2 separate regions of the Homo sapiens genome follow, and region 1 is linked to region 2. Evidence: promoter capture Hi-C in human tissues and cell types (Jung and others, 2019). All regions are on one chromosome and are shown on one strand. Each heading gives the region's core, a stretch centred on a gene start or on the middle of the fragment in contact. The rest is flanking DNA. Distances are from core to core; before and after follow the strand shown.

Region 1 (4,427 bases), core at 1,653-4,152, 850 kb after region 2:
GGCGAGAGAGCCCATGACGAACACCAAACAGACTTTAGATATATAGAGTGAGTTCGCAATTAATTCGGGCCACAGTGTGCCAAGGCACATTTCCAAACTGGGCCTGGATTGGCGTGTCATCCTCCAGGAGAATATATTAGAGATAAAGGTTGAGTTTACAGCCCAAAAGAAATGTCAGTTGGAAAGGTCCCCGCTATTAAATCTTTTAAAGAACCATCTGCATAGGTGGAAAGAGATGCCTCCCACTCAATGGGCTGTTCCCCGGGAGTCAACAAGATCACCCTGGTGAAACAGCTTTTGAGGGTGTCTGTGACGATTCCCCACCTAGGGATCTCACTGAAGCTTTCCCACCATCCGACGAAGGTGAGGGCAGGCATGACCTCAGAATCTGGAGCAAGCGGCGTCCTGGATATGAGTCTGCCTCAGCAAGGGGCCTGAGGCTGCAGCCTCCCCACGCTGGCTCAGGTTCTCCTCTGGAAAGTGGGGACCGCAGTGCACCCCTGCATAGGATGCTGTGGAGGTTATCCGAGATAACACACAGACTGTGCCGGGCACAGAGCACAGGCTCAGAAAAGGCTCCATCCGTCCTGCTTCCGGCAGCTTCATGATCGACTGGGGAAACAGAGTCTCAGAGGGTGAAACCACTTAACTCGGAGGTGTAGGAATTGGAGACAGCCCCACCCCATCTGGGCACAGAGCTCTTTCCATGACCAACTGCCCCAGCGACGCTCCAGGACGCCACGAGCATAAGGCAGTGGTACCAGCAGAAATGCCTGTTAGCTGAAGGCTTTCTCAAAAAGTCAGGAGCCAGTGCTCCACACTGTGGAGGGGGGTTGGCCCAGACCCCCTCAGGGCCCAGACTCCCCTGGCCTCTGTCAAGAGCATGGTTTGCTGACAGCCAACAGCTGAGTTCCTTGCCTAAACTACCTTTTACTGGAGGTTAGACCCCATCCCTGCTCAAGGGCAGCCCACACCCAAGGACCGGTCAGGAAGAAGGTTCCAGATCCTGTCCCTTTTCCTGAATGTGGGACAACTCAGAAGGGCCGTCCCTGCTTCCGAGTCCTGCGGTCGGGGGGCTCCATGAGGCCTCTGCAGAATGCATGCACCTGCGCCCCGGCTTGCTGCCCTCGCCCCCACAGGCCTTGTTTCCAGAGTCCGCCTAGAAAACCCAGAGCCTCAGAGTCAGCTACCAAGGACCCTGACATAAACACTGTCCTCCTAGACACTTCTCCCTGCAGACAGGGGTCAGCAGGGCCCAGGTTCAGGGCCCAGGGGTTCAAGAAGTAGGGACGCTTGTGGGAGCACGTCCCAAAAGGATACAAGAGGAGGAGGGGCATCTTGGGGCCAGGTGCCACCCCTCACTGATGCCATCCTGGACTCTTCTCCCCCTGCAGAGGGAATGCACATGCCCAGGCCCAGAGGAAGCCACAGAAGGCCACTCCAAGGAGGCTGTGATGGAACAGGGAGGAGGTGGCCTGGGGGCTGAGGGGCTGGAGACAGGAGGGTGGAGCGGCTGGCACAGGGACAGGAGAGCGGGGTGGCTGGCACAGGGCAAGTCAGTCTAGGCAGGGAGTTTGTATTCTTCCCAAGGAGAATGGGGATGCGTAGAGGGTTTTAAGAGGAGAAGGCTATGTCATACTTGCATCCTGGAAAGATCTCTGACTTCAGTGTTGAGGATTGCTTAGAGGAACAAGAGGTGGGGCTCAAGTCAGAGGCAGCTATGGTTTCCAGGGAGAGGGGAGACGGGTGGGATGCCTTCCAGTACACGGTGGAGGAGGAATCGGCTGGGACTCGCCAGCAGCAAGGGCAGCGGTGCCCAGGACCCCGCCCAGGCTGTGCCTCTCATCATTTGAAGGCCTTTGCCTTGGACACTGTCAGCTGCAGAGTGCACCTCTGGCCAGGCCCCCGCGAGGTAGGCACTGTGGCCCTGCCTGTTCCCAGACGTGGTGTATCAGTCTGTTCCCACACTGCTATGAAGACATATCCGAGACTGGGTAATTTATAAAGAAAAGGGGTTTCATTGACGCACAGTTCCGCATGGCTGGGGAGGCTTCAGGAAACTTACAATCATGGCAGAAGGCACCACTTCACAGAGCAGAAGGAGAGAGAATGTGTGCTGGGCAAAGCGGGGAAGCCCCTTATAAAACCATCAGATTTTGCGATAACTCACTCACTATCAAAACGACAGCATGGGGGAAACCACGCTTATGATTCAATGACCTCCACCTGGTCCCGCCCTTGACGTGTGGGGATTACTACAATTCAAGGTGAGACTTGGGTGGGACACAGAGCCAAACCATATCACATGGGAACCATGGACCCCATCACTCAGGACCCTGTGCAGGGCCTCCCACAGGGAGCAGAAAACAGAGTCTATCCAGGAACCTCTCTCGGATATTGTTTTCCATACCATCACCTCCTTCTCATGGTCTCACACATGGCAACCACCCACCCCCCATTCTCCTGGCCCTTGGCACTAACTTCCCTGTGAGGGAGGCAAAGGCCGCAGTTCCCATTTCACAGATAAAGAAACTGAGGCCTTGAGATAGGACTGATTTGTCTCAGGTAGGAAACCAGCGCATCTGCCCGGGTCTGGCAAGAGCCCCTGCGAGTGACCTATGAGATTCAGATGGCGCGTTCTTCCCTCAGAGAGGCAGGGCTGCCTGCTGGTTACACACACCCTAACCATACTTCCTGGCCCACTTACGTCAAGCCTCATCAAAAATCCCCATCCATGGGGCCTTGGGGACCCCCTTCCTGAGCCGGGTGCTAAGAGGTTTCATGGATTCACTGTCTCATCCATCCCCTCACCATGGCCATGCGGTGGGAGCCGACAGACACTGAAGACCTGGGGTGTTACATGGCTTTGGGAAAGTCATTCTGCAATTTGAACAGGGTCCCCCAAGTGCAGGGAGCTCACCATGACTTTTGGGCTTCACTGTGGGATGCATATTTACATGCATCCTGGCCCCCGGGCAGACCCTGAGAATACACGGCCGCTCATCTGGGGTAAGGCCTGAGGCTGTTTGACGTCATGCGAGCACACCCTCTGCCTCTCAGGGCAGTGTTCAGGCGGGACAAGGATGCCCTGCTCATTGGCTGAAACAGCCAAGCTTCATTTGTTAAAAATTCTAGTCCTTGAGCCACGCCAACTTCATTATGGTCCTTGCCTCGGAGTCCTGGAGCTGCCATAAGAAAATACCACAAACAGCGAGGCTTAAAACAGCAGAAATGTTTCTCTCCCGGTTCTGGAGGCTCGAGACCTAGATGTTGCAGGGTCACGTGCCTCAGAGGCTCCTCCCTGCCTGCTCCGGTCCTGGCGGCTCCAGGCCTTCCTTGCGTGGCTCCAATCTCTACCTTCGTTTCACACCACCTGTCTTCAGGGCATGCTGTTGTTTTGGCCTCCTCTGCCTCCATCTTACAAGGACACCTGGGATGGTATTTAGGGCCAGGCCAGCCTGGCTAATCCAGGAGGATGTCCTCATTCATCTCAGGTCCTTAAGCTGATTGCATCTGCACGGACCTTTTTTCAAATAAGTCCATCTTCACAGGTTTGGGGTCTGGGACATGGGAGTATATTTTGGGAGCCACTTTCCACCCCGTATTAGTCAGAGTTCCCTAGAGGGACAGCACTAATAGGGTAGCTGTACATATGAAGGGGATTTTATTAAGGAGAATTGACTCACGCGATCACAAGGTGAAGTCCCACCATAGGCCATCTGCAAGCTAAGGAGCCAGGAAGCCAGTGTGAGTCCCAAAACCTCAAAAGTAGGGAAGCCCACAATGCAGCCTTCAGTCTGTGGCCGAAGGCTCAAGAGCCCCTGGCAAATCACTGGTGTAAATCCAAGAGTCCAAAAGCTGAAGAACTTGGAGTCTAATGTTCAAGGGCAGGAAGCATCCAGCATGGGGGAAAGATGGAGGCCAGAAGACTCAACCAGACTTTTCCTTCCATGTTCTTCTCCCTACTTTCTCCTGGCCATGCTGGCAGCTGATTAGATGCTGTCCACCTGGATTGAGGGTGGGTCTGCCTCTCCCCGTCCACCGACTCAACTGTGAATCTCCTTTGGCAACACCCCCACAGACACGCCCAGGAACAGTACTTTGCATCCTTCAATCCAATCCAGTTGACACTCAATATTAACCATCGCAATGCACTACATTCCAGGACACAATAAAAGAGGCCTCTGTACCCCACGTCTTCCTGTGCTCTCCAGCTTTGGAGGCTGAGAAGACAGTGGGGTGGAGACAGCCATGGTTTGGAGCAATGGGGGGTAAATGGTGCCTGCTGTGCACCTGGGTGTTGGGGGCAGAAACCTGTCTCCAACAGGAGGCTTCAAGCTGGCAAGAACACGTGGGGAGCTTGGTCAGAGGCTGCGTGCGGTGGCGCAGTGCTCATGTGAGATGCACGCCGTCTGGGGCTGTTATTT
Region 2 (4,326 bases), core at 892-3,391:
ATCTGGCCAGGTGCAGTGGCTGACGCCTGTAATCCCAGCACTTTGGGAGGCTGAGGCAGGTGGATCACCTGAGGTCAGGAGTTTGAGACCAGCCTGGCCAATATGGTGAAACCCCTCCTCTGCTAAAAATACAAAAATTAGCTGGGCGTGGTGGCGTGTGCCCGTAATCCCAGCTACTGGGGAGGCTGAGACAGGAGAATTGCTTGAACCCAGGAGGCAGAGGTTGCAGTGAGCCGAGATCGCGCCACTGCACTCCAGCCTAGGAGACAGAACGAGACTCCATCTCAGAAAGAAAAAAAAAAATCGAGGGGGGTCGTCTCCCCAGGACAGCTTGTGGCTTTAAAACATTATGCGAGATGAATCATTCTTGAAAAGCCCCCTGGGTCGGGGATAGTGGCTCACACCTGTAATCCCAGCACTCTGGGAGGTGGAGGCAGGTGGATCACTTGAGGCCAGGAGTTCGAGACCAGCCTGGCCAACATGGCGAAACCCCATCTCTACTAAAAACACATAAATTAGCTGGGCGTGGGAGCCCACGTCTGTAGTTCCAGCTACTCCAGGGGCTGAGGCACGAGAATCGCTTGAACCAGGGAGGCGGAGATTACAGTGAGCCGAGATCAGCCATTGCACTCCAGCCTGGGCGACAAAGCGAGACTCTGGCTCTAAAAAAAAAAAAAAAAAAAAAACAAGAAAAGCCCCCTAATCAGTCCTTAGAGATAGGTGTGGGCCCAAGCCAGAGGTGCAGGCTTTGTCAAATTGCTGCCTCAGGATACGGTCTTGAGGGTGGCTGTGGGGACACCCAGCACCTGCACCCCAAGGCCACACGGTGTCAGATTTTAGGAAGCGGTGGAGAACACTCGGGTACCTTCTCGGTCCAGACATCAACCTTCTGGAGAGAACCAAAGCACCCACACTGGGCCCTCGCCATCCTAACAGTCTGCCCACCTGTGAGAAACGCCCCCAAATACTCTACATTTCTCGGTTGGCCGAAAAGCAGCTCAGCCAGCGGTCTTACCTCCCAGGTGGGGTTTCCCCCCAGGGTAGGGAGGCCAGGGTCTGCAGGCCAGGGAGAGGAGCCCCGGTGCAGGAGCGGGCGGGGCAGCAGGAGGACCCGCTCCAGCCACCCAGAAGTGGGCGTGGGCTAGAATTCAGCTCCCAGCCTTCCAGAAGCTGCAATTTTACAACCTCACTACAAGCGTCCCCCAGCAAAGCTGCACCGCCATTTCCTGTGCTTGGGAACTGAAGGCAAGGTGAGCCCCTCCCGGCTGCCCCGGCCCGACCTCCCCTGACTCCCAAGCTTGGGCTACTCACGGCCTGCGGGCTGGGCAGGGTCCCCCAAGGGAGCTCCCCTCCCCGAGGGCGCGCTCACCCTAGCCGCTGGGATCGGCGACCTGGTCCTCGGCCCGGCGGGAGTGAACGCCTCCCAGGGAAGAGGCCGGGCCTCCAAGCAGGTCTGCACCCCCGGAGTTATGTTTCTGGGATCCGAGGACTAGCGAGCTTGGGGCCCGGGAGAGCGGCCACCCTCCCGGAAGCTCCGCCTGGCGCAGGGCGTGAACCGCAGTCTCCAGGCCGGCCGGGCCGCGGCCATTCTCGGAGGGCAGCGGCCGCCCCGGGCCGGGCCAAAGCTCCCCACCGCGGGCCCTCACCTGCGCCTCACCTGGGGCTCCAGGAGCGCGGGGCGCGCGGGCCGAGAGTCGCACGGAGGCCAGAGACAGGATCCCCGCCCGGGGAACGGAGCAGCCCCGGCGCCGATCCCCGTCCGCCTGCCTCGGGGAGCCCCCGCCGCCCGCCCGCCGCGGCCTGCACGGCGCGCCGGCCCCGGCCTGGCTGGCCCTCCTGTCCCCGACCCCCCAGCTTCCCAGCCCCCGAGCCCCCCGGCCCCGGCCCTGCACCCGCTCACCTCCGCCCGTCCCCCGCCGCCCGCCGCGCGGACCCCGCCTGCGCCCGCGTCCCACGTCCCGGGGGAGGCGGCGGGCCGGGGGCGGGCCGGAGGCTGCAGGGCCAGCGCGCTCCGCCCTCGGCCGGGGCGCGGGGAGGGGGCGCAGGGGCGTCCGGCCGGGCCCCCCGCCTCCCCGCCTCCCCGCGCGCCGCCGCTGCCGCCGCCCCGCGCCCGGGCCGCGCCGTGGGAAGCGCGGGAGGGGAGGGGCGGGGCGGGGGGCGGGGCGACCCCCCCAAGCCGCCCCCTCCCCGCGACCTACCGGACGGTGGCGGCGGCGGCCGCACTCCGGAAGCCGTGCCCGTGGCTGGGCATCATGGGAATGGCACGGCCGAGTTCCGGGGGAGGCGCGCGGCCCGGCCGGACCCCCGCCCGCGAGAGCGCGCCCACCTGCCGCCGCGCCCGCGCCCCGGGGACGCCCCCGCCCCGCCCCGCCCGGTTCGGACGCGGCCCCCTCCGCGGGGTGCGGGGCGAAGGCGCTTGGGCCGGGCCGAGCCCCGTGCTGCCCGCCTCCCGTACCGCGGCCACCTCCGGGGGGCGCGCAGGGGGCGCGGGGTCGCCGGGAAGTTCTGGGCGCGGGGGGCGTGGCCGTGGGAAAGCGCTCGGAGCCGCGGGAAGGGAGCGTGCGGGGCCCCGGCGCCAACCGAGTTCCTCCCCGAAGTTCACGCGGGGCTCCGGGCTGAGACCGGCCCGCCCGCCCCTCCAGCCCCACAGCCTTGGGCCGGGGTCGGGGGCGGCCCCCGCGTGTCCCCGCGGCTGCCCCACCCGAGCTTGCGGCGGGGAGTGGACGCACGACCTGCCCGGGGCGGCGGCTCCTCGAGCACACCTGCCGCCAGGTTCGGGGGAGGGAACAGTTTCTAGGAACTGCCCCGGACCTTGAGGCCGCTGCTGTTTCTGCTTCTGCTGTGCACTGACCATGTGACCTTGAAAGTCTTCCCAGTTTTGTTTTATAAAAGGTCCAGGGTGTGTGCCCGAGGCTGGCGGTGGCCCGGGTGTGCTCAGCATCCCCGGGCGGCGGGGAACGGGCAGACCCGACTGGATCCTCCCTCAGCGCCCACTCGTGGAAGGGGCAGATGGTGCGCAGGGGCACCGCGCTGCTTCTGTAAGCCCCCTGGGCCCTGATCCACACGTGTCTGGGAGATGAATTTGTGGGTTCGGTTCCTGTCTAGAAAGTGTCAGAGATTTGATAGGATCAAAATCAGAGACTTGCCTTGGAGGGGTGCTTCTAGTCATGCCAGCCTGGGAAGCTGGAGGGCCAGTTTTGGGTCAGGAAACCCATTAAAGAATTGTTTTAATGCCTTCGTGAATTTTTTCAAAAAGCAATTTTTTTTTTCTCATGAAATAATACTCTTTCATTACCAAACTTTGGGGAGATGATCTAATTAATAAGGTGACTTCCCAGAGACATGGGCTGTTAAGGTTTTGGCATGCTGCTTCACAGTTTTTAAAACAGTGCTGTGGTGAACAGCTTTCATGATGCCTCCTTAGAGCGGCTCTGAGCATTTCCTGCGGGCAAATCCCTAGAAGAGGCCGGCGGGCCAAAGACTATGCTGCATTTTGCCAAAATGCCCTCCAGAAATGCGGGGCCAGCCTGCCGTCCACCCACTGGTGAGCGGGCATGCCCGCTTGCCTGTCCTCTTGCCAGCCCTGAGATATGTCATTGCGTTATGTCTTTGGCAGTCTGATAGGCGAAACAGCCCTTTTCATCACTTGAATCCTAATTTCTTTGACTGCTGGTGATGTTGAACATCTTTTCATTTTATTATTGGCCATTTGGAATATTGCCTGTCTGTGTTCTTTGCCCATTTTTTATTTTTCTGTTGGGCTGTGTGTCTTTTTCTTAGGGATTCTAAGAGCTTGTTACCGTAAGGAATTTAGCTCTTCTCTGTGCTGTATGCTACTCTGTACAAGAGCGTAAATGCAATGTATGGTCGGGCGCGGCGGCTCACCCCTGTAATCCCAGCACTTTGGGAGGCCAAGTTGGGCAGATCACCTGAAGTCAGGAGTTTGAGACCAGCCTGGCTAACATGATGAAACCTCGTCTCTACTAAAAAATACAAAAATTAACCGGGTGTGGTAGCGGGTGCCTGTAATCCCAGATAATCGGGAGGCTGAGGCAGGAGAATTGCTTGAACCCAGGAGGTGGAGGTTGCAGTGAACCGAGACGGTGCCACAGCACTCCAGCCTGGGTGACAGAGCGAGACTCTGTCTCAGAAAAAAAGTGTATTGTACAACAGTACAATAACACAGAATATTGTACAGTAGTACAATATACTCTTGTACATTGCATTTATTTTTCTGTCATTTTTCTTTTGACTTTGGATTTTGGTTTTTTGTTTGTTCAACCTTTTTTTTTTTTTTTTTTTTTTTTTGAGACAGGGTCTTACTCT

Evidence for each region. Contacts are between HindIII fragments. The study calls those that stand out against the background at their distance.
Region 1: a contact is called between a fragment that was not itself captured here and the fragment with the promoter of PPP1R26 in region 2, in 1 of the 25 tissues and cell types used here (lymphoblastoid cells).

Annotation. Positions count from the first base shown.
Region 1 is chr9:134,630,964-134,635,390 of GRCh38, reverse strand. No RefSeq gene overlaps it. Among named protein-coding and RNA genes, the nearest start is that of COL5A1, 8.6 kb to the left of the region's middle. The HindIII fragment of the contact is 7,228 bases long and covers 1-4,427 here.
Region 2 is chr9:135,477,597-135,481,922 of GRCh38, reverse strand. It overlaps PPP1R26 (protein phosphatase 1 regulatory subunit 26), which reads right to left and starts at 2,141. Exons shown (of 4, transcript NM_014811.5): 1 at 1,901-2,141. RefSeq lists silencers at 1,500-1,549, 1,560-1,619. The HindIII fragment of the contact is 17,940 bases long and covers 1-4,326 here.